Linked DNA regions of Homo sapiens: regions 2, 3, 4, 5, 6 and 7 are each linked to region 1. The links are contacts of gene promoters, found by promoter capture Hi-C in blood cells and fetal thymus (Javierre and others, 2016). All regions are on one chromosome and are shown on one strand. Each heading gives the region's core, a stretch centred on a gene start or on the middle of the fragment in contact. The rest is flanking DNA. Distances are from core to core; before and after follow the strand shown.

What was found. Contacts are between HindIII fragments. The CHiCAGO score rates a contact against its expected background, and 5 or more counts as called.
Region 2: a fragment that was not itself captured here is called in contact with the fragment with the promoter of DUSP4 in region 1 in 14 of 17 cell types (M2 macrophages, M1 macrophages, M0 macrophages and 11 more); the score reaches 14.0 in M2 macrophages.
Region 3: a contact is called between a fragment that was not itself captured here and the fragment with the promoter of DUSP4 in region 1, in 16 of 17 cell types (endothelial precursors, M2 macrophages, M0 macrophages and 13 more). The highest score is 30.4, in endothelial precursors.
Region 4: a fragment that was not itself captured here is called in contact with the fragment with the promoter of DUSP4 in region 1 in 10 of 17 cell types (M1 macrophages, endothelial precursors, M0 macrophages and 7 more); the score reaches 10.3 in M1 macrophages.
Region 5: a contact is called between a fragment that was not itself captured here and the fragment with the promoter of DUSP4 in region 1, in 9 of 17 cell types (M2 macrophages, M1 macrophages, M0 macrophages and 6 more). The highest score is 7.0, in M2 macrophages.
Region 6: a contact is called between a fragment that was not itself captured here and the fragment with the promoter of DUSP4 in region 1, in 2 of 17 cell types (M1 macrophages and M0 macrophages). The highest score is 5.5, in M1 macrophages.
Region 7: a fragment that was not itself captured here is called in contact with the fragment with the promoter of DUSP4 in region 1 in 2 of 17 cell types (M2 macrophages and M1 macrophages); the score reaches 6.3 in M2 macrophages.

Annotation. Positions count from the first base shown.
Region 1 is chr8:29,349,186-29,352,398 of GRCh38, reverse strand. It overlaps DUSP4 (dual specificity phosphatase 4), which reads left to right and starts at 1,715. Exons shown (of 4, transcript NM_001394.7): 1 at 1,715-2,553. The coding sequence starts at 2,121. It overlaps LOC124901924 (a long non-coding RNA gene), which reads right to left and starts at 1,425. Exons shown (of 2, transcript XR_007060876.1): 1 at 865-1,425. RefSeq lists enhancers at 798-907, 948-1,017, 1,716-2,215, 2,538-2,687, 2,216-2,717 and silencers at 1,208-1,347, 1,538-1,857. The HindIII fragment of the contact is 21,736 bases long and covers 1-3,213 here.
Region 2 is chr8:30,034,491-30,037,703 of GRCh38, reverse strand. No RefSeq gene overlaps it. Among named protein-coding and RNA genes, the nearest start is that of SARAF, 47 kb to the left of the region's middle. The HindIII fragment of the contact is 1,249 bases long and covers 845-2,093 here.
Region 3 is chr8:30,009,467-30,012,679 of GRCh38, reverse strand. No RefSeq gene overlaps it. Among named protein-coding and RNA genes, the nearest start is that of MIR3148, 54 kb to the right of the region's middle. The HindIII fragment of the contact is 991 bases long and covers 1,242-2,232 here.
Region 4 is chr8:29,981,292-29,984,504 of GRCh38, reverse strand. No RefSeq gene overlaps it. Among named protein-coding and RNA genes, the nearest start is that of MIR3148, 26 kb to the right of the region's middle. The HindIII fragment of the contact is 2,721 bases long and covers 115-2,835 here.
Region 5 is chr8:29,963,648-29,966,860 of GRCh38, reverse strand. No RefSeq gene overlaps it. Among named protein-coding and RNA genes, the nearest start is that of MIR3148, 7.9 kb to the right of the region's middle. The HindIII fragment of the contact is 2,291 bases long and covers 574-2,864 here.
Region 6 is chr8:29,935,353-29,938,565 of GRCh38, reverse strand. The region is part of intron 2 of LINC02209 (long intergenic non-protein coding RNA 2209); the gene reads right to left. Among named protein-coding and RNA genes, the nearest start is that of LINC02209, 15 kb to the right of the region's middle. The HindIII fragment of the contact is 902 bases long and covers 1,095-1,996 here.
Region 7 is chr8:29,909,585-29,912,797 of GRCh38, reverse strand. No RefSeq gene overlaps it. Among named protein-coding and RNA genes, the nearest start is that of LINC02209, 10 kb to the left of the region's middle. The HindIII fragment of the contact is 1,315 bases long and covers 1,052-2,366 here.

The DNA of each region.
Region 1 (3,213 bases), core at 466-2,965:
TAAGCCATTTTGGAGCCCGGAGCAAAAGGAAATATCACCTTGCCCAAGCGGTGCCCCTACAGCTCATCCGAGTAGGGCCCGGGGGTCGAGGCATTCGGGGCCCAGTGGGGGACGAGGCCAGTCGAAGGTCTCGGAAGTGGAGGCTCCGCCGAGCTCCGGTCGGGGAGTGCAGGGATGGCCCCCGGGACCGGAGGTGAGAGCTCGGGAAAGCCGCTCCGCCCGGAACAAAGGCATGGGGAGAGGGTGAGCTTGGGCGGGAGAGACCCGGCGGGTACCGGTGCCCTCGCTGCCTGGGTCGGGCTTCCACGCGCGCCCCGGAATGGAATACGCTACTCTGCAGCCTCCGAAACTGCGAGCGAGTCCTGTAACTCCCTTGCTCTGTGATTAATTCTCACTAACAAGACTTGGCAAGATGTCGGGCGAATGATTTTTGGCTTCTGCACGGTCCCCACCGCGTGCGTGCACAAACCCCCAGCCAAAAGCCGCCTCTGGGAAATTAAATGCAAAAGAGAAATGGGGATGGGGAGGGCTGCTACGTGACCAGGAAAAAGGGATGCCCAGAAACATGAATCGGACCCAGAGCTGCTGAAGTCCTTTCAAAAGGTCATTCTTTGCGGGTACATTTTCCAGGGTCCAGCTCCGCAACAAATGTGGACCCTGTCATTTCCTGAAAGGATAATTCACAACTATGCAAGATAGGGTGAAGACGTTTCCCAAACCCGAAAACCTTGTTTTTCCCCCGACCAGGGTTAAATAAACATCTTTTAGGAAGCGTGGACAGGAGCGCAGCCTGCTCTCCTCCCTCGGAACACCATTCCGGCAATTAATGCCTCCCTTTGGGTAGTAAAGCAACAAACCCCACACCTCACTCCGATCCTGGGCTTCGGGCGGGAGGACTTTCTCTTTCATCTTCCAAGCAGGGGGTTGCCCACGTTCTTGGGGAAGCTATAAAACTGATTTAATGGCTTTAGATGAAAATCGATCACGCTAATGCATACGCTAACGTCTCAGGAATCGCATATTCAGAAAGGACTGGCCGGGCCGAAAGCGCACGGGGAGTCTGGGGCTAGGAGGTGTCAGGCCCCGCTGGGTGGGCAGCAGCGCTCCGGTCCCCTCTCCACTTGGGTAACCGGGAAAAACCTACGGGGCTGTCACGCGGGGAAGCGCGAAGGTGCCAAGGGATGAAAGCTCAAACCCGAGCCCTGGCCTCCTCAGCCGGCTATTTCCTTTGGCGCCGCCCGCCTAGCGGCGGGGTGCAGCGGCGGCACAGGTGCCGGTGTCGGGCTGGAGGCGCGGCGCAGGCTGGGCCCGCGGGTAGACGGCGAAAGGCGCCGCGCGCTCCATTCACAAAGTCCGGGCGCTGCCCGCCGCTGGCGGCGGGTCGGAGGCCGCCTCCCTCTTCCTCTCGGCCTCGGTTTTATGAATGGGCCTGATGGCGAGCACCCGGCGCCCTGTTTACTCCGCTCTTTGTGACGTCGAGTTCCCGTGACCGGGAGCCAGCGGCCGCGCTCCATTCAAGCTCCGGGGAGGGGGTGGGAGGAGGGGCCCGGAGGGGGCGGGGAGTCAGCGCGGGGGGCGGGGGACAGCGCGGGGGGCGGGGGACGGCGCGGGGCCCGGAATGGAACGGGGCGGGGCCTGGCGGGGTAGTACCTAGCGCCCCCTCCCCCGGGAGCGCGGAGGAGCATTAATAAACCTCTAAGCCGAGGAGAAAACTCTGGCTGGGGCAGTGCGCTGAGCGCCGGAGGAGCGTAGGCAGGGCAGCGCTGGCGCCAGTGGCGACAGGAGCCGCGCGACCGGCAAAAATACACGGGAGGCCGTCGCCGAAAAGAGTCCGCGGTCCTCTCTCGTAAACACACTCTCCTCCACCGGCGCCTCCCCCTCCGCTCTGCGCGCCGCCCGGCTGGGCGCCCGAGGCCGCTCCGACTGCTATGTGACCGCGAGGCTGCGGGAGGAAGGGGACAGGGAAGAAGAGGCTCTCCCGCGGGAGCCCTTGAGGACCAAGTTTGCGGCCACTTCTGCAGGCGTCCCTTCTTAGCTCTCGCCCGCCCCTTTCTGCAGCCTAGGCGGCCCGGGTTCTCTTCTCTTCCTCGCGCGCCCAGCCGCCTCGGTTCCCGGCGACCATGGTGACGATGGAGGAGCTGCGGGAGATGGACTGCAGTGTGCTCAAAAGGCTGATGAACCGGGACGAGAATGGCGGCGGCGCGGGCGGCAGCGGCAGCCACGGCACCCTGGGGCTGCCGAGCGGCGGCAAGTGCCTGCTGCTGGACTGCAGACCGTTCCTGGCGCACAGCGCGGGCTACATCCTAGGTTCGGTCAACGTGCGCTGTAACACCATCGTGCGGCGGCGGGCTAAGGGCTCCGTGAGCCTGGAGCAGATCCTGCCCGCCGAGGAGGAGGTACGCGCCCGCTTGCGCTCCGGCCTCTACTCGGCGGTCATCGTCTACGACGAGCGCAGCCCGCGCGCCGAGAGCCTCCGCGAGGACAGCACCGTGTCGCTGGTGGTGCAGGCGCTGCGCCGCAACGCCGAGCGCACCGACATCTGCCTGCTCAAAGGTAAACGAGGGCTCCGGGCGCTAGCTGGAGTCGGGGAGATGGAGGGGGTCTTGGCGGCCTGCGCCTTATTGGCACGGGAAGGAGTCCCCGGCGTGATTCGTGGTTGCGGGGATCCCCGCGCGCCCCTTTGTGTGTGTTGGTGTGTAGGGGTTTGCAAGGTTTCTGTGCAAGTGCGAGGTTCAAGTCCTCAGGGAAAGTGCGGACGGGTTTCTCCGGTCACCTGCAATTCCGCACCGTCCTAGCGAGGCCCCGTTTATTGACATTAACGGTCCTAGCCTCGAGGATGAAGCGACTCCTCTGCGCGGTCCATCTTGAGTCCCGGGAACAGTTTCCAAGTACCACGGGGCGCGTGGGGACAAGATAGGCCTGTTGGTTTGGCGTGCTGGGGCCCTACACTGAGCCGGACCGGGAGAATCCCAGAGGTGGAGAAAAGGTGAAGAGGGGTGGGCGCCGAGGTACAATTGGCCTTGCCAGTTTCACTGAAAACAAGACCCTGGCAAATGCAGAAAGGGAGATTGGGTTGCACACACTGTGTAGAGCGATCTGTATCTGCGTTCCCGCTGCCCAACTCCAAGCTCAGCTTGGAAGGTGGCCAATCCCCGTCCCGGGCTAGATCCAGGCTCTGGGAGCGGGAGGCTGAAGGACTGGGTATCTGGGGGA
Region 2 (3,213 bases), core at 220-2,719, 690 kb before region 1:
GTCTACTCTTCTCTTTTCAGTTGTGTCTAAGCTGATGCCAAATTTGACTAATGGGTTTTCTGTTTCAGTGATTCCATTTTTCATTTCAGAAGTTTTTTTTTCCTTTCTATACTGTCTTCTATGTTTACTTTTCTCCTTTATGTCTTTAATTGTTTTATCATCTTCATTTGATTATTCAGGAACCTGAAGCTCTGAGAGTCTAATGAACTTTATTACATGCTTGTTACTTCTGCTGGCTCTTGCTCACGATGGATTATTAAGTACTGAGTTGTGTGATTGTATGTTATGAGTTCATCTTCAGCAGGGCTCTATTTGTAAGAATGGTGGTGAGTGTGTCCCTCCTGTGTGGTTTTCTTCTGCCAGGTGCTCCAGTGATGTAGCCATCCTAGGATCTATTTATGTGTTAATTTTTTGGCTTGGGGGTTCCTGGGTCCTCACATGGCATTGACCCATAATTGACTTTCCGATGAGGAAACTAATTTTTTTTCTTTTTTTTTCTTTTTCTATTCAGAGTCTAGGTAGGCCAGAAGAGACAAACTTCTACGTCATTTCGTTATGCTGGTAGAGAGATATTTTTCTAGTCCACTCTTCCTGTGCTGTATGTGGAGTCAGGGGAGGGAGGATGGGTGGGTCTTACTTCAGCTTCCTACTTGGCAGTCTCAAGATCTTTCACTTTATCATTGTGTACATGTTAAAACCAAATTCCTAACGTTTCGTAAGTTGGAGATAAACCCGACCAATCCAGGTTAGTTGCCACATCAGCTCACTCACATAATGCTCTGGTTTTCAGAAACCAAATCTTCATTGCTGAGCTCTGGGGATTTCTCCTACTTTCTTGTAAGCTTAACTATGCATTCAAATGTTTTTACTTTTTTTTTTTTTTTTCCACAGAGTCTCACTCTGTCACCCAGGCTGGAGTGCAGTGGTGCAATCTCGGCTCACCGCAACCTCTGCCTCCCAGGTTCAAGCAATTCTCTTGCCTCAGCCTCCTGATTAGCTGGGATTACAGGCATGTACCACCATGCCTGGCTAATTTTTGTAGTTTTAGTAGAGATGGGGTGGCATGAGCCACCGCAGCTGGTTGCTATGCATTCAAATGGATGTTACATCTGGCATTCCTCTGTGTTAATGGTGGGAGAGTTTTCAAGACATTGAGTCTGTCCTGTTCATAAAATTAGAAATCTTCAGTATTCTAATCTATCAAAGGTCGTTGTCCATACCATACGATCATAGCCTAATTTCCATACATGGCACACACTTCCACAGGAGCATGCTGCATGTGCACATGTGTGCACCCACACAATACCTGTTTTGCCTACAGTAGACTCACCCTTAGTGCCCATGTGCAACTTTATCCCTTATGGGATCTCAGTGGAAGAAGTAAAAGTTTCAATGCCTAGAAAAGTATATGGGGTCAGAGGGAGTCCCTTCATTATCAACAAAAACTTTTCGGAAAATACAGCACAGTGGTTAATGGCTGTGTATCAGACAAGCCTGTGTTGAATCTAGCCTTTGCCAGTCTGTGACCTTGAGAAGAGTACTCAACCTTTTTTTTTTTTGGAGACAGGGTCTTGCTCTGTCACTGAGGCTGGAGTGCAGTAGTGCATTCTTGGCTCATTGCAGCCTCAATCTCCCAGGCTCAAGTGATCTCCTATTCAGTCTCCCAAGCAGATGGTACTACATGTGTGCACTAATTTTTAAAAAGTAAAAACAAATAATAAAAAAAAGTTTTTATAGAAACATCTCACTATGTTGCCCAGGCTGGTCTTGAACTCCTGGCCTCAAGCGATCCTCTCACCTTGGCCTCTGGGATTACAGGCATGAGCCACTGTGCCCGGCCTTACTCAACTTCTTTATGCTCAGTTTTCACATCTGTGAAATGAGAGTGTTAAATGTTGTGAGGGTTAAATGAATGCTTCAATAATGTTAGTTATTACATTTATTATTATTATTCTTTATTTGTATGCTTAAAAAAACTCAATCCCTTTCCAAAAGACTCTGAGGGCCAGTATATTAAGTTGAACCACAAAATCGCTTTCATGCGCGTCCGTGTGAAGAGACCACCAAACAGGCTTTGTGTGAGAAATAAAGCTTTTAATCACCTGGGTGCAGGTGGGCTGAGTCCGAAAAGAGAGTCATCGAAGGGAGATAAGGGTGGAGCCGTTTTGTAGGATTTGGGTAGATAAAGGAAAATTACAGTCAAAGGGGGGTTGTTCTCTGGTGGGCAGAAGTGGGGGTCACAAGGTGCTCAGTAGGGGAGCTTTTGAGCCAGGATGAGCCAGGAGAAGGAATTTCACAAGACAATGTCATCAGTTAAGGCAGGAACAGGCCATTTTCACTTCTTGTGTGGTGGAATGTCATCAGTTAAGGCAGGAACTGGCCATCAGGATGTGTACGTGCAGGTCACAGGGGATATGATGGCTTACCTTGGGCTCAGAGGCCTGACAATCGCCATGTTTGTAGATAAAAAATTATTAGATTGGTAGTTTTGTAAGGCTCAATGTAATACTTACTTCAGAACAGGGATCCTATTTTGAAGTTGTTAGAGGAAGACACATTCAAAGGATGAGACTTTGATAATAGAAACACAGATTGGGGCGGGGTGCAGTGGCTCATGCCTGTGAGCACTTTGGGAGGCTGAGGCAGGAGGATCACCTGAGGTCAGGAGTTTGAGACCAGTTTGGCCAACATGGTTGAAACTCCATCTCTACTAAAAATACAAAAATTAGCCGGGCATGGTGGTGGCCACCTGTAATCCCAGCTACTTGGGAGACTGAGGCAGGAGAATCACTTGAACCCAGGAGGTGATGATACAGGAGTTATTAAGAAATAATTTTTAGGCAGATAGTAAGGGTAAAGGTTCTCGGTGGAAATTTTCCTGGAATAAGAAACAATCCCTGAACCATCTCTTTTCTAACAGAAATGGTGGCTTGAAGGGTTGGGCCAGCAAGCTTTAATATGCAAATACAGGCCATTAGAAACTGGGTTCACTCAATATGGCGATTCCTGCCATCTTTTCCTTGTCACCAGGTGTAGCAATTGTCATGGCCACCTCCAGATAACACCATGTGTTCAGAACATCATGGCGACCTGCATTTGTATGTTACGGGGCTAAGGTGGGAGGGCCAGGTTTTTCTTGGGTTATGTAAATGACACACCTGGTGGGCCCTATGGAAATCAGACACCACCTCCTCCGGCCTCTTCCTATAAGCA
Region 3 (3,213 bases), core at 488-2,987, 660 kb before region 1:
TGACGTTGCCTCTGCTGTGAGCGCCTGCTGCATCTGCCAGTGAGGATGCTCACCACCTGTTTCTCTATGCTCCATGGATGGGGGCCGGGAGTGGGGGCCTGAGGACGAGAATGCAAATGTGAGCTTCCGACCAGGCCATGTTGCCAGGAGCCGGTCCACTGAGCTGTGTCCTCACTCTCTCCCTCTCAAACATCTTGGCTGCAACAAAAGGTGCTGTGTCAGAAGAGTCAATTGTGTGGCGGTCTCTTGACTGCACGCCAGTTTGCTGAGTGGGCAGGTGTTGTTATCTGTTGGAGCTAGTTGCTAGGGTTTGAACCCAAACCAGGAAAAAGGTGGGAGTGAAGCAGGGCAGAGTGGAGAGGGAGAGCAGCTGCAGAGTGGGGGTGGGCATCAGCCGGAAGAGCCTCCCCGTCCTGGCCTGGCCACACCTCTGGCACTGCAACCTGGAGGCCAGCCTCACCTCCCAGTCCTGACCTGCCTGCCCCTGACAGTCCAGACCTACTGTGCATGTCGCTGGGCTGCTGAGAAGCATCTTGGGGTATTTAGGCAAACTGTGCCCTGCCAGACCTTTTAGGTGTACATGGGGCATTTTCTTCCACCCCCCTCTCCTTTTCTTTCTCTCTCTTTTTGGTGAGCTCCTCTTCCCCTAGAATCTATAGAAAAGAAACCTTGAACTCGAAGCCTGACCTGCTTCCTTGCTTTGGTCTGCTGCCTTCCCTCTTCCCTTCAGCTCTGGGCTTTGTGCAGGGAGACAGTGACCCCATGAACGTGCGTTTCCTGCCTGACATCCTCTGTCCTATTGGGAAGTCACTCCCACTCATTGGAAGTCACTTAGCCCTATTCCCTCTTCTTGGGCCCCCCGCAGGGCTCAAGATATTTCTCTGACAAGGCTGCTGAGTGAATTGATAAGTGATTTGGAAACAGACAAGGCTAGGTGGCAAGGAAAAACACTACTCTCCCATCTGTCACCCTCTTCCTAAAAGGGTAAGTGTGGATGACTGTATTTTGGCTGCAGGGGGTGTGAGGACTCTTCCTATCTGACTTCCAGGAGAGATGGCATTAGCCCTGTGCCTTTGGGTCTCTGGGTCTCTATTTCTTTACTTGTAAAATGAAGAGGTTCGTAAAATGTAAAATGATGACCACAATCTCTTCCATCTTTAAATTGCATGGCTCTTTCCTTGCAGGTGGGATGGCAAGAGCTCATGTGTAGCTGGCTGTGGTTTAGGAGAGGTCACTAAGCTTTGCTGGGATCTAGGTGGGGGCAGCATATTTGGCCTGGGGAATAAGTGTTTCCAGCTCTGAGGTTGATAGCCCTGGAGGCTAAGCCAGATTGATCAAGATGACAAGACACCAAAAGTGCCCTCTAATTAATTACCTCTTGTAGCAACTGAAAAATTCATATGAGTCTCACTAAGACAATTCATCTTTTCTTCCTTTTTCAGGTGTCTTTCAGTTATGGAAAAATACTTTGGGCAACATAGAGCAATTGTTTTTGCTAAGTGTGGTGCCTGGTGCAGTAATGGAACTGGCTAGCATAGAAAACAGATAGTTTTAAGTAGTTTTAGTTGTGATTTGGTTGTTGCAATGAAAGCTCCTGTAATCCATGGTAACTATTGTGCTATATCTTTGTGCTATTTTCTTGGCATCCTACCATCAAAATCACCTGGGATTTTTCTTTTTCTTTTTCTTTTTCTTTTTCTTTTTTTTTTGAGGTGGAGTCTATAGCTCTGTTGCCCAGGCTGGAGTGCAGTGGCACGATCTTGGGTCACTGCAACCTCCACCTCCTGGGTTCAAGCGATTCTCCTGCCTCAGCTTCCCAAGTAGCTGGGATTACAGGCACGTACCACCATGCCTGGCTAATTTTTGTATTTTTAGTAGAGACAGAGTTTCACCATGTTGGCCAGGCTGGTCTTGAACCCCTGACCTCAAGTGATCCACCTGCCTTGGCCTGCCAAAGTGGTGGGATTACAGGCGTGAGCCATCATGCCCGACCGGATTTTTCTTAAAAAGATCACAAACCTACTCCACAGGTACTAAATAAAAATATCTGGGAGTGAGGCTCAGGAATCTGTGCTTTAAATACGTTTTTCAGGTGCTCTTATGCATGCTAAAAAAAAAAACTGATTCAGAGCCTATGCCACATAATTTCCACTGTTATATGCCATGATGCTATTTATTTCTTTATTGTTTAAATGTGTGCCACCCTTGCCTTTCCTAACTTGATTGTAAGCTTTTGGAAGGCAGCACACCAGCCACTTCTTTTTCTGTAGTGTCAGCACATATTGGTGCTATACACCTCTGAGGTTTACAGGGTGTTCTGTGGATTTGTAACCCCACAGCTTGACACAGCTCAGGGATTTGGGCAGTAGCTGCCCATCTTTATTAGTGTGTTTTCACGCTGCTGATAAAGACATACCTGAGACTGGGTAATTCATAAAGAAAAAGATATTTAGTGGACTTACAGTTTCATATGGCTGGGGAGGCCTCACACTCATGGTGGAAGGGGAAAGGCACGTCTTACATGGTGGTGGCAAGAGAGAATGGGAACCAAGCAAAAGGGGTTTCCACTTATAAAACCATCAGATCTCGTGAGACTTGTTCATTACCACGATAACAGTGTGGGAGAAACTGCCCCCATGATTCAATTATCTCCCACAGGGTTCCTCCCACAACACATGGGATTATGGGAGCTACAATTCAAGATGAGATTTGGGTGGGGACACAGCAAAACCATATCACCATCCTAGGGAGGAGGATGTGGTGAGGGCAGAGAGAGGTCAGGTTTGATTCTCTGGATGCATTTGCCTCTTTCCCCTCTTTTCCTGGAAAGCATTTGGTCTCTGGGATCCTTCCTCTCCCTGGAAGTTTGGGTAGTTTGGCACTGGATAAAGGGTCCATAAGGAATAGCTGGGCTCTGAGAATGGCACGGAGGAAGGCAGGGATGAAAATGACAAATACAAGTCATTGGGATCCCTAATGACTGTCTTGGTTCCTACAGGGAGGGTGATGTGGGGAGGTGAGGGATGCAGGACAATGCTGAGGCTCCAAGGAACCTCAGCCCTTGGGAAAAATTAGCCACATGGCTCCTGGATGCAGGTTTTTGCTTAAATGGTGCAACTTTACGAAGTTACATCTTCTTTCTGCACATGGCAGAGAGAGTGAGAGAGAGAAAGAGAGAGAGAAAGAGAGAGAACGCTAGAAGTTGCATTAATT
Region 4 (3,213 bases), core at 226-2,725, 630 kb before region 1:
TGGGAATGGTAGGGTGGGGTACAGGACATTGGGTGGAAGACAGGTTGAGAAAGACCCCTAGACAGCTGGCAGCCATCATCACCAAGAGAGATAGCAGAAAAACAAGTGGAAGCTTCAGTTGGGATTATGCGAGAAGAGAGGTCAACATTGGCACCAACCGGACCAGCGACACTCCTTCCATTTGCACACCTGGCTGTTAGCACAGAGAGTTAGAACCAGGACTCCAAGATGAAAAGAAGTTTGAGTGCTTCTTAAGAAATGAGCCAAGGACCTGGGCAGAGGGCAAGTCCAGGTTCGGAGTCCACTCAGACCTAACATCAGGGTAAACCCCACTTGCCCAGGCCAAGTGTATTAGTCAGCGTTCTCTAGAGGGACAGAACTAATAGGATATATGTATATATGATGGGAGTTTATTAAGGAGAATTGACTCAGACAATCACAAGGTAAAGTCCCACAACAGGCCGTCTGCAAGTTGAATAACAAGGAAGCCAGTGGTGGAACTGTCTGAGTCCCAAAACCTCAAAAGTAGGGAAACCAACAGTGCAGCCTTCAGTCTGTGACCAAAGGCCTGAGAGCCCTTGGCAAACCACTGGTGTAAGTCTAAGAGTCCAAAGCTGAAGAGCTGAGAGTCTGATGTTCGAGGGCAGGAAGCATCCGATACAAGAGGAAGATGAGGGCCAGAAGACTCAGTAAGTCTGCTCTTCCATCTTCTCCTGCCTGCTTTATTCTAGCAGTGCTGGCAGCTGATTAGATGGTGCCCAACCAGATTGAGGGTGGGTCTGCCTCTCGAAGCCCACAGACTCAAATGTTAATCTCATTTGGCAGCATCCTCACAGACACACCCAGGAACAATACTTTGCATCCTTCAATCCAATCAAGTTGACATTTGATATTAACCATCTGACTGAGTGTCCTGGAAACAAATACTCTAAGTTCAGTAAATCCCTCTCTTTCTCCTTCTTTCCTTTTCTCCCCCTTGTCCTCTTTTTTCTTCTCTGCTCCCTCTGTTGTAGCATTTTTTAAAAAATAGTATTTAGTTCTTGGATAAACTTTTCAGAAGAGAAACTGTGCCATAGATACCTGGACTAATTCATTTCCACACCTAAGGGGTGTGAACATCTGTGGTCTACAAAGAACATGGGTCTTCAACTCACCAGTGTGCAAAGTAAAAATCAAAGCAACACTCTCACCTTACTTCTATCCCCCCACTAATAATGTTTAAAAAAAATCTCAGATGGGCATGGTGGCTCATGTCTGTAATTCTAGCACTTTGGGAGCCCGAGATGGGGGAATCTCTTGAGCCCAGGAGTTCCAGACCAGCCTGGGCAACATGGTGAAACCCTGTCTCTACAAAAAATACAAAAATTAGTTGGGTGTGGTGGCACCTGCCTGTAGTCCCAGCTACTTGGGAGGCTGAGGTGGGAGGATCTCTTGAGTCAAGGAGGTTGAGGCTGCAGTGAGTCATGATCACACCACTGTACTCCATCCTGGGTGACAGAGCGAGACCCTGTCTCAAAAACAAACAGGTTGGTGCGGTGGCTCACGCCTGTAATCCCAGCACTTTGGGAGGCTGACGCGGGCAGATCACGAGGTCAGGAGATGGAGACCATCCTGGCTAACACGGTGAAACCCCGTCTCTACTAAAAATACAAAAAATTAGCCAGGCTTGGTGGCAGGCGCCTGTAGTCCCAGCTACTTGGGAGGCTGAGGCAGGAGAATGGTGTGAACCCGTGAGGCGCAACTTGCAGTGAGCTGAGATCGCGCCACTGCACTCCAGCCTGGGGGACAGAGCGATATTCCATCTCAAAACAAAAAACATAAAACAAAACAACAACAATAAACAAAACTCAACCTCAAACCATTTCATTAAAATTCATGAGAAAGTAGACATTGTATCAATGTTTCAGAAGTCATACATGTGATTAACTTATCCAAGCAACAAAAAGCAATCATATTACAAAACTATATTTAGCAATTCTCTCTCTCTCTCTCTCTCTCCCTCTCCCTCTCCCTCTCCCTCTCCTTCTCCCTCTCCCTCTCTCTTTTTGAGACAGGGACTTGCTATGTGGCCATGGCTGGTCTCAAACTCCTGGGCTCAGGTGATCCCCCTGCCTCAGCCTGTCTAGTAGCTGGGATTACAGGCAGGCACCACTGCACTCAGCTGGTTCTTTAATAAACACACCATGAATAGTGTTCTCTCAGGAGTCACTTCTAGAGACTCATGGGGTTACAGATCTTCTCTGAAGACTGTAGGACTTTGCAAGCATCAGGAGGCAGCCTGGATAGCGCCAGGCAAGAAAATGACCCATTGGAAAATGCTGAGTCCACATTTAATAACTAACATTTAAGGGGTGCCCGCTATATGCCAAACACTACACTATCATACTAACACATATAATTTTATTTAGTCATGAAACGGCATTGAGAGGCAGATATTAACAAAAAGGATCTGAGACTCATAGAAGGAATACAACCTGCCCGATTTGGCCCTGGCAAGTAAGTGGGAGCACTGGGCTTTGAAATGATGTCTTCTGAATTGAATTCCTGGGTTCTTCCTAGCCTACTGTCATTGCTTTGAATTCCTTGGACAAAATGACCCACAAAAGTACAAATCTTTACCTTCTCATTGCCTGTGTCAGCTATGGTGAAGAGAATAAATACAGGTGGGGAAGAGCCAAAAATCGGGTGCATTTGTAGATAGGTTGGTGCATGAAACAAACAGGAAGATATAAAGTCTTTTCTTCTTGGGTCATCAGACACTAATTAGGAGCAATGGATAACGATGCAAACCTATGAAGGCTTAATGCAGTTGCAAAGGGTTCACAATATGAAGCTTCAATGAAAGAGTGACTTTTTCCACAAACTTAATGGGGAATAGTTATTCAATACCTGGTACAAATGGTGAGGGTGAAGAAAGTTGTGATTTTTTTTTTTTAAGAAAAAAATTTGTTTTGCTGGGAAGTCATGAAGAAGCAATGTCATCTCAGAGACCTAATAAGGCACGATGGTCCTGGACTTAATGGCTGTGGGAGCTGTTCATTCGTGACCTCAGGACCGGGCTGCTGCTTCCTGAGAGTTATTCCACCCTGGAGTTAAGACTCCGCTGTGCTAGGACCACTGTGAAACCACAACACACACCTAGTGGTTCTATTTTCATGGACTGAGAAAAGCAAGTTGGAGCCACTTCCTGATCTGGCTGCCTTTGCCCAGAGT
Region 5 (3,213 bases), core at 470-2,969, 610 kb before region 1:
GGCCAGCTATTTTTTTTTTTTTTTGTATTTTTAGTAAAGACGGGGTTTTGCTAAGTTGGCCAGGCTGGTTTTGAATTCCTGGACTCAAGTGATCTGCCTGCTTTGGCCTCCGAAAGTGCTGGGATTACAGGTGTGAGCCACTGTACCTGGCCCTCAGGTATTACCTTATAGCAGTGTGAGAACAGACTAATACACCATGATACACATAAAGGAAGAGGATGTTTCCAGAACCCTTGATGCACCTCTAGTTGTATCCCTGTCTTCAAAGATAACCATAAACATGACTTTGGGCGAATATTTCTGTTGCATTTCTTTCTATTTTTACTGCACATATTATGTTAATTGTGTGACTGTGGGAAAGTCACTTAACCTCTCCGTGTTTCAGTGCACTCATCTGTAAACTGGGAATAAGAAGAGTACTTATCTCACAGAGTTGTTATAAGGATTAAATGAGTGCAATTAATTAAATATGTACAGTGTTCAGACTAGCATCTGGCATAAATACTATATAATAATTTGTTATTTTAATTAAGTCCTAAACAATATATTATTTATTTTGCCTGTTCTTAAGCTTTATATAAATGAAATTATACTGTACATATTCTTCTGTGACTTGCTTTTTTGGTTCAGTACTGTCTATGAGGGATTTATTCCTACTGATGTGTGTGAACAGTTCTTCATTTTTACTGCTTTGTAGAATTCTATTGTAAAAATATACCCCAATTTATCCATCCTACACTTGATAGACATATTTTAAAATTTCTTGTTTTTATGAACTGTGCTGCTATGCAAAGTCTTACACATACTTCCTAGTGTCCATGTGTTGGAGTTTCTCTAGGTAATATACCTGGGGTGGAATTGCAAGATTATATAATATGCACATTCTCTATCTTCTATGAATCTTAATATTTCTTTTATATTTTCCAATTCTTTGTCTCCCTATGCTGCGTTCTGGGTAATTTCTTCAAAACCACTATAACGGATGGAGTCAGTGGTCCGTCTGTATGTATCCCTCTGTCTTTACCACATCAGTATGTCTGCCTAGCTTTTAACTGCCAACATCTGAATTTCATTGCTCTGGTTTTCAGAGCCCACTTTGCCACTCCTGTGAAGGTCAGAAGTGCCTGGCAATTAACGGCTTAGCAGGAACAGCCCTCAACCAGTGACCGATGGGTGAATGAACACAGCAGCTCAAGTGGGACAGCCTTGAGGTATGTGTTCTAGATGGGCTTCTGGAGTGCCTCCAGCATGATGAAGCTCCAGTTTCCCACAGTGGTAAAAAGCTCAGTATCACCTTAATTGGCTACTTTGCCTTCTCTGTGCCTTTTACTCACTTCTTCACTGGTGTTTCTTTCCCCTCCCAAATTAACTACTTACACTCAAATCCTTGTCTCTCAGGGCTGGCTTTAAGAGAACTCTGAGATATCTGTATATCTGTTCTTCTAGTTCACTAATTCTCTCTTTAGCTGGGTCTAATCTACTGTTAAACTTTTCATGAAGTTTCTAATTTCAGTTATTTTATTTTCATTTTTAGAATTTCTATTTGGTTTCTTAGTATATCTGCTTGGTCACCTTCCATAGTCCCTGATTCTCTATCAGTCTTTTAATTTATATTTTTAAAAACAATATTATTCATTCTTATTTTGTAGTCGATCTTTGGTAATTCCAACATCTACTGTCTTTGCCATTCTGATTCTGTGGTTTGTTGTTTCTGCCTCCTCTTCCTCATGGCAGTTTCTTTCCTGTAGTCTTCAGTGATTTTTGATTGTGAGCTTTGTCTGTGAGACTTATTTGAGGCCTGGTTTAAAAATATATATTTTTCAGGTAGGATGCTCATTTGGTTTTTCTAGGTGCCTGGGGGCATTTATCCACCTGGGACACTTTAAATTCCATTTTTGGCTTGAGGTTTCTTTTTCGTTATAGAGGTGGTTTGAGTTCTTATTCTAAATCCCTTAAATGTACATTTGTGGTTAGGAATTCTTAGGGTAGAATTTTTTCTTTCTTTCTCTTTTTTAGCTTCACCAAGAGCCAAGATGCGATAATAATGTATCCTACTAACTCCCTCTGTGGGGTATTTTTCCCCCTAGGTCATCCACTTAGAAAAGGATGTTTACCCTCTTGGGATCGCTGCTTTAAAAAGTGAATATCTTCAATTTAACCTCACATCCAGTTAAGGCCCCAGGCTTTATCTTCTTAGACCCCCAAAATAAATTTCCAGCTTGAACACTAGTTATTTCTTTCAATTTGAGCTTTCTTATCTTTTCTGGCCTTCAGAGAATACCTTTACTTTCTTGGTAGCTCATTCATGTGTTTAAAAGTTTTCATTTTGGAATGTATCCAGCTTTTATCAGTGTACTGTATTGGGAGAGTTTTCTCTAAACATCTGATCCACAATATTGTCATTTAAGGCTCCAACGTGCTTTGCAATAGTGATGTATCTTGCTGGCTTCCTCCTTTTCTTTTTAATATTGAAAATTCTTATTTTCTCCCATATATTTGATAATCCCAGTATCAGTTCCTTCAACCAATATTGAATGTGCCCAATTATGTGCCAGGTATTCTTCTATAACTTTCCTGTGAATGAATCAGGCAAGGCCATGGTCTTGTGGAGCTCACATTCCAGAGACAGTGTAAACCCAGAATTTCATTGCTATTATGCCATTGGGGCAGCTTTGAAATATACAATGTTAACAGTTATGCAAGGCTGAGAAAGATAGTGAGCAGTATTTTGTGTTTGGTTGCTGATATCTGCAAGTCAAAATAGGAAGAAATTATGGCATATTAATTTTTCTGCTTGGAAAGGTTAATGAATTGTATCTAGGTCTGAAGATGCAAGGTAGACAAGAGGTAAATGTGGATAAGCTTATTTTTGTGCATACAGAGGAGAAGAAGGAATGAGATTCTCATTCATGCAGCGTTATGCAAGGTGCTTTATATGTATGTTCCCATTTAATTCTGACCCCTTCCCAAGTAAATTCCACGCAGTAGATATGGTCTCTATTTTCAGGTAAACTGTGGTTGAAACCGTTAGTTGTCCCTTAATATTTTTTCCATTCGTCAATACCAATAGGTATTTTTAGCTGGTTATATGACTGTCTAGCTTAAAGATGATATTTTCCATTATCCCTTACAGTTAAGTGTGGCCATATCACTAAGTCTGGCCAGTGGGATTTAGAGTGTAGTAGGCAGTAGCTTATGACAATTTCTCTAAGA
Region 6 (3,213 bases), core at 296-2,795, 590 kb before region 1:
CACAAAGGTGCGTGCAGTTTGTGAACATTAATTGGGATCTGCACTTGTGATATGTACACTTTTTGTATGGATATTATACTTTAATGAGCCCTTTGAAAGTGGGGACTCAGGGACAGAGTGAGACTCCATCTCAAAAAAAAAGTGGGGATTCAGGGTGCTATAGACAAATTGTAGAGTGTAGTAAATTATTCACCTAGTCCCCTTCCCAAATGAGATAACTTTACATCTGTGAAAATGCTACAACTGGCCTGGCATGGTGACTCACACCTGTAATCCCAGCACTCTGGGAGGCCAAGGTGGGTAGATTGCTTGAGGCCAGAAGTTCGAGACCAGCTTGGCCAACATGGCAAAACCCCGTTTCTCTGAAAATACAAAAATTAGCCAGGTATGGTGGCGTACGCCTATAGTCCCAGCTACCCAGGAGGCTGAGGCAGGAGAATTCCTTGGACCCAGGAGGCAGAAGTTGCAGAGATTGCACCACTGCACTCCAGCCTGGGTGACAGAGCAAGTCTCCATAAAAAAAAACAAAAAACAAAAAACAAAAAACAAAAAAAAGAAAAAGAAAAAGAAAATATTCTGACAACCATCTCTCCACATTAATGTCAACGAATGCAGAAACTGTACAATAACTGTGAGTAAAAAGAGAAAAGTCAACAAACACCAGAGCCATTGTCCCACATGCTCCTGCCTCACATGGTGGGGTTTGGAAGCAGGCAAAGGCAGATGAAACAAGCTCAGGGGAACATGCAGAGTGGACGCCAGTGAAGCGGCCTGAGTGTGGAGCGACCCCCAGCAGGATGAAATCCACCTGAAATCTGAAAATATTCAGAGCGTGACAGCAGAGAAGGGATCCGACGTATTCAGCCCTCTTGCTTTTTGAGTTTTTAATAATAACCATTCTGGCTAGGGTAAGATGGTATTTCATTGTGGTTTTAATTTGCATTTTCTTGATGATTAATGATGTTGAACATTTTTCCATATGTTTGTTGGCCATTTGTATTTCTTCTTTGGACTAGACATACTGTTTAAAGGGATAGACATTCTTTAAATGGGAAAATCTGATTTAAAAGGATGGTCTTTTGGGGAGAAAAGCTTCTGGGAGAGAAAAAGGCAAAAGAGAAGGAAGGAAGAAGCATGCTTTGGAACTTGGGTGGTGAAGAGGAAAAGAAAAAAGAGGAATTTTATTGTCCTACAAGACAAAAGAGAACTAAAAACTGGCAGCCTCCTAACCTGCCCATGCCACCAAAACAAACAAACAGATGAAACCCCACTGAAGTACCTGGACTTTTCCAGACAGAAAAGAAATTAAATGAGAAATCTTCTAAAATACTGCAGTATCATAGAAATGAATAAAAGGAAAGTTTTTAGAGAAATAGTTCAGAAAATGAGGGAATGCATTTGCATGCAAATCAACTGAGAAAAAGTCCCTTCCTGAAAAACAACCATGAAGCAGAAGAAAATTGTAGGTCTACGTTCCAAAATGAATTAAATATACAGTCATGCTTCGCTTCACGATGGGGATAAGTTCTGAGAAATGCGTCATTGGGCGATTTTGTCATTGTGTTGTGTGACCATCATAGAGTTTATTTATGCAAGTCCAGATGGTATACTTACTACCCACCTGGGCTGTGTGGTCTAGCCTATTGCTCCTTGGCTACAAACCTGTATAGCAGGTTACTGGACTCAATACTGTAGGTAATTGGAACATAATGGGAAATATTTCTGTATCTAAACATAACTAAATATAGAAAAGGTACAGTAAGAATGCAGCATAAAAATGGGGTACCTGTGTGGGGCACTCCCTATGAATGGAGTTTGCAGGACAGGATGTTGTTTGGGTGGGTCAGTGAGTGAGTGGTGAGTAATGTGAAGGCCTAGGACATTACTGCCCCTTTAGACTAAGCTAACTTTATGAAACAATGTTTCTTCAATCACAAAAGTAACTTTAACTTACTATAACTTTTTTTACTTTATAAATGTTTAATTTTTAAAAGCTTTTTGATTCTTTTGTAATAACACTTAGCTTAAAACACATATTGCATAGCTGTACAAAAATATTTTCTGTCTTTATATCCTTGTTCTATAAGCTTTTTTCTATTTTTATTTTTAAAACTTTTTTCTTAAAAATGAAGACACAAACACACACATGAGCCTAGGCCTACACAGAGTCAGGATCATCAGTATCACTGTCTTTCACATCTTGTCCCACTGGGAGGTCTTCAGGGACAGAAACATGCATGGAACTGTCATCTCCTGTGATAACAATGCCTTCTTATGGAATACCTCCTGAAGGACCTGCCTGAGGCTGTTTTACAGTTAACTTAAAAAAAAATAAGTAGGAGTACACTTTAACGTGATGAAAGTACAGTACAGTAAATACATAAACCAGTAACAGTCATTTAGTATCATGATCGAGCATTATTTATTGCACATAATTGTATGTGCAAGACTTTTATATGACTGGCAACACAGTAAGTTTGTTTATACCCACATTGCCACAAACATGGAATGCATTGTGCTATGACATTGCAATGGCTACGACATCACTAGGTGATAGGAATTTTTCAGCTCCATTAAAATCTTATGGAACCACTGTCCTCTATGTGGTCCATTGTTGACTGAGATGCCATTATTTGGTGCATGAAGGTGAAGCAAGCATTTGAGGATCTGGAATTCAAAAATTAAGAGCAGAAATGGAACAAAAAACAGGGAGAAAAAAAAGAGTTCCTTAAACTCAGGAAAGAAATGGTAGAAAAAGACAAAATTGTCTCAGAAATGAAGAATAAATTACAAGATGTACAAGGGAGAATGGACCAAATGAACATTTAAGAAGGGGCAGGAAAACAGGAAGACACCAAAGAAATGAAAATGAGTAGAGAAAAAGGTAAAAAGTCTCAGAAAGTAGTAAAAATGGAAGACAGGCAAAGAACAAATAATATTCATGTTATCTGAGTCCCCGAAGGAGGAAAATAAAACAAAGGAACAGAACTAACATTTAAAACTGTAATCTAAGAAAATTTTCCAAAAGTAGAAAAAGACGTAAACCCACACATTGAAAGAAGTCATCTGGCAAAATTAATCCAGAAACAATGAATTCTCAGACTTATCCTGGTATAACTATTAGTTCTCAAAAAATAAAGTTCTCAAGGCCTGTCTCCAGGTAAAAAGATGAAATCACTTACACAGACAAATGAATTAGGCTAGCGTCAGATT
Region 7 (3,213 bases), core at 460-2,959, 560 kb before region 1:
GAGTGTGTATGTGTTCAGGAATTTATCTATTTATTCTAGATTTTCTAGTTTATTTGTGTTGAGGTGTTTGTAGTATTCTCTGATAGTAGGTTGTATTTCTATGGGGTCAGTAGTGATGTCTCCTTTATAATTTTTTATTGTGTCTATTTGATTCTTCTTTCTTTTCTTCTTTATAAGTCTAGCTAGTGGTCTATCTATTTTGTTATTTTTTTCCCAAAAAAGCAGCTCCTGGGTTCATGGATTTTTTTGGGGGGCTTTTCATGTCTTTATCTCCTTCAATTCTTCTCTGATCTTAGTTATTTCTTGTCTTCTGCTAGCTTTTGGATTAGTTTGCTCTTGCCTCTCCAGCTCTTTTAATTGTGATGTTAGGGTGTCGATTTGAGATCTTTCTAGCTTTCTGATGTGGGCATTTAGTGCTATAAATTTCACTCTTAACATTGCTTTATCTGTGTCCCAGAGATTCTGGTACATTGTCTCTTTGTTCTCATTGGTTACAAAGAACTTCTTGATTTCTGCCTTAATTTCCGTATTTACCCAAGAGTCATTCAGGAGCAGGTTGTTCATTTCTATGTTATTGTGTGGTTTTGAGTGAGTTTCTTAATCCTGAGTTCTAATTTGATTGCACTGTGGTCTGAGAGACTGTTTGCTATGATTTCTCCCATAACCGAAGTTCTGTTGTGTTGCCATTTGATTCCTTTCTCTTCCTCCCTTGTGTGATTGCTTTATAAAAACTGTGAGTTTTATATTTCTATATGTTTTTGTGATGGTGAATATCAACCTTTTGTTTCCATGCTTAAGACACCTTTGAACATTTCCTGTAGGGCTGGTCTAGTAGTAAAAAATTCCCTCAGCATTTGTTTATCTGGGAAATAGTTTATTTCTTCTTCATTGGTGAAACTTATCTTGATAGGATATAAAATTCTTGGCTGACAGTTTTTTTTTCTTCCAGCATTTTGAAAATGCCATCTCATTCTCTTCTGTTCTGTAAGATTTCTGCTGAAAAGGTCTGCTGCCAATGTGATGGGGTTTACTTTATAGATTACTAGAAGCTTTTCTCTTGGCTAATTTTAAAATCTTTCTTTCATGTTGACTTTAGATAGTCCGAGTATAATATGTAGTGCTGAAGTCCTTTTTGCAATGTATCTGTCTGGAATTGCTGGGGCTCCTAGATCTGAATGTCTGACTCTTTTGCTAGACTTGGGAAGTTTTCATTGATTATTCTCTTAAATGGGTTTTCTAAACTTTTTGTTTTATCTTCCCCCTTGGGAATACCAATAATTTTTAAGTTTGGTTGGCTTAGGTAGTCCCAGACATCTCAAAGGCTTTGTTGCTTCTTTTATTTTTTTTTCCTTATTTTTGTCCGACTGGTTGATATAAAAAAAACTGTCTTTAAGTTCTAAGATTCTTTCTTCTGCTTGGTCTAGTCTGTTATTGAGATTTTTGAATGTATTTTGTATTTTCTTCACTGGATTTTTTAGTTCCAAAAATTTTTTTTAAAGATATCTTCTTGGTAAATTTCTCATTATATCCTGAATTGGTTTTCTGGTTTCTTTGTATTGATTTTCAGATTTCTATTGCATCTCACTTAGCTTCTTAATAATCAATATTTTAAATTCTTTATCTGGATTTTTGAGGAATTATTTTTTATTGGAATTTGTTGCTGAAAAGCTGTTGTGATCCTTTGGTGGTATCAGATTTCCCTGCTTTTTCATGTTTTCTGTGTCCTTTCATTGGTATCTGCACATCTAATGTAGCAGTTCCTTGTTCCAGTTTTTTGAAGTTGCTTTTGTAGGGGAGAATTTCTCCTAAAGATGTATGTGTGCTGTTGGTTGAGTAGGATATTTTGGCTTTGATTTTGGGTACCTACAATAGTGTGATTTTTAAAACTTACTTCTTTGGCAGTGCATAGGATGAGTGATATCTGTTATTTCCTTGGTGGCTTAGGATATAGTTATCAGCTTAGGTTGTGGCGAAGTTTCGTTGGAAACTTAGATGCTAACTGAACCAGTCTTTAGGCCCCAGTAGTTACAGCAGTGGAGTGAATGTTCCTGTTTTAAGCTCCAGAGCAGCATAAACTGGCTTTGTTGTTAGTGGGTCTTGAAGGGCTAATCCTTGGGCCTCTATGTGGCTTGCTTAGAAGCTAGTAGTGGGAGTGGTGTTTCATGTGTGTGGGTGAATTCTCAGGCCCCTGGGCATCTGGTACAGTGTGGGTGATGGCAGTAGTGGTGGTGGAGCAACCCACTGGTACTCAAGTAGTCCATGTTGGTGTTCCTACCAGCTGTGATGGGTTGGGTGGGCTAGTTCCTGGTTCCACAGCCACTCATAGTAGGGTGGTGTGTATTGTGCTAAGTGTGTTTAGGAAAGCTTGGCCTTCTCTGTCCTTCCCCTGGCTGGGTGTTGGCTGCAGCCACATCTCCTTGAACTCAGCCTGAAAGTGCGTCACAACCCACAGTTAAACCCTCAAAATTATGCCAGTTCTGGGCTTGTGACCAGAGAGGGTGGGGCCCTCAGCCCTCCCTCAGGTAACCAGCATAGAAAAGAAGCTGTGGGGAGTGTGGTCCACTTAGTCTTAATCTCACAGCAGTGTGTAGCAGGATGGTGAGTATTGTCCTAGGTATGCATGCATAGGATAGCCTTGTTCCCTGTTCATTCTTGGCTAGTTGGCAGCTGCAGTGATTCAGCCTGAATTCAGCCTGAGATTAGGGCACAGCCCAGTGTTAAACTCTCAAAATGGTGCCTTGGGGCTGAGACCAGAAAGGGCAAGCTCCCTTCAAGCAAGCAGCATGGGCAAGAAGCTGTGGGGAGTGCAATCCACTCACGTCTCAGTCTCAACAGCAGCCTGCAGCAGGGCAGTAGGGACCCTTCCAGGGGTGCATGGAAGTGCCTGGTCTCCCCTGTCTCTCCTTGGAGCAATGCAATGGCAGCAGCCATGTCTGTAGATCTCTGGTATCTAGGTCTCAAAATGGCACCAAGGTGAGGCTGTGTGGATGACTGTGAGATTCCATGTGGGTTCCCTTTATGGAGCAACATCTCTGTGCAATTGTTAGGCAGCTCTATATGTCAAACACAAGGGCTTAGTGGGTCAAGGGTTTTCTCCATAGCCAAGATTGTAAAAGCCAAGACCTGGGAGTTTCTCTTTTACTGTTTCCCTGAATCCAGGAGCCTCTCCTGACTCTCAATCAGTCCCCAGTTGGGAAAGCTGTCTCAAACCCT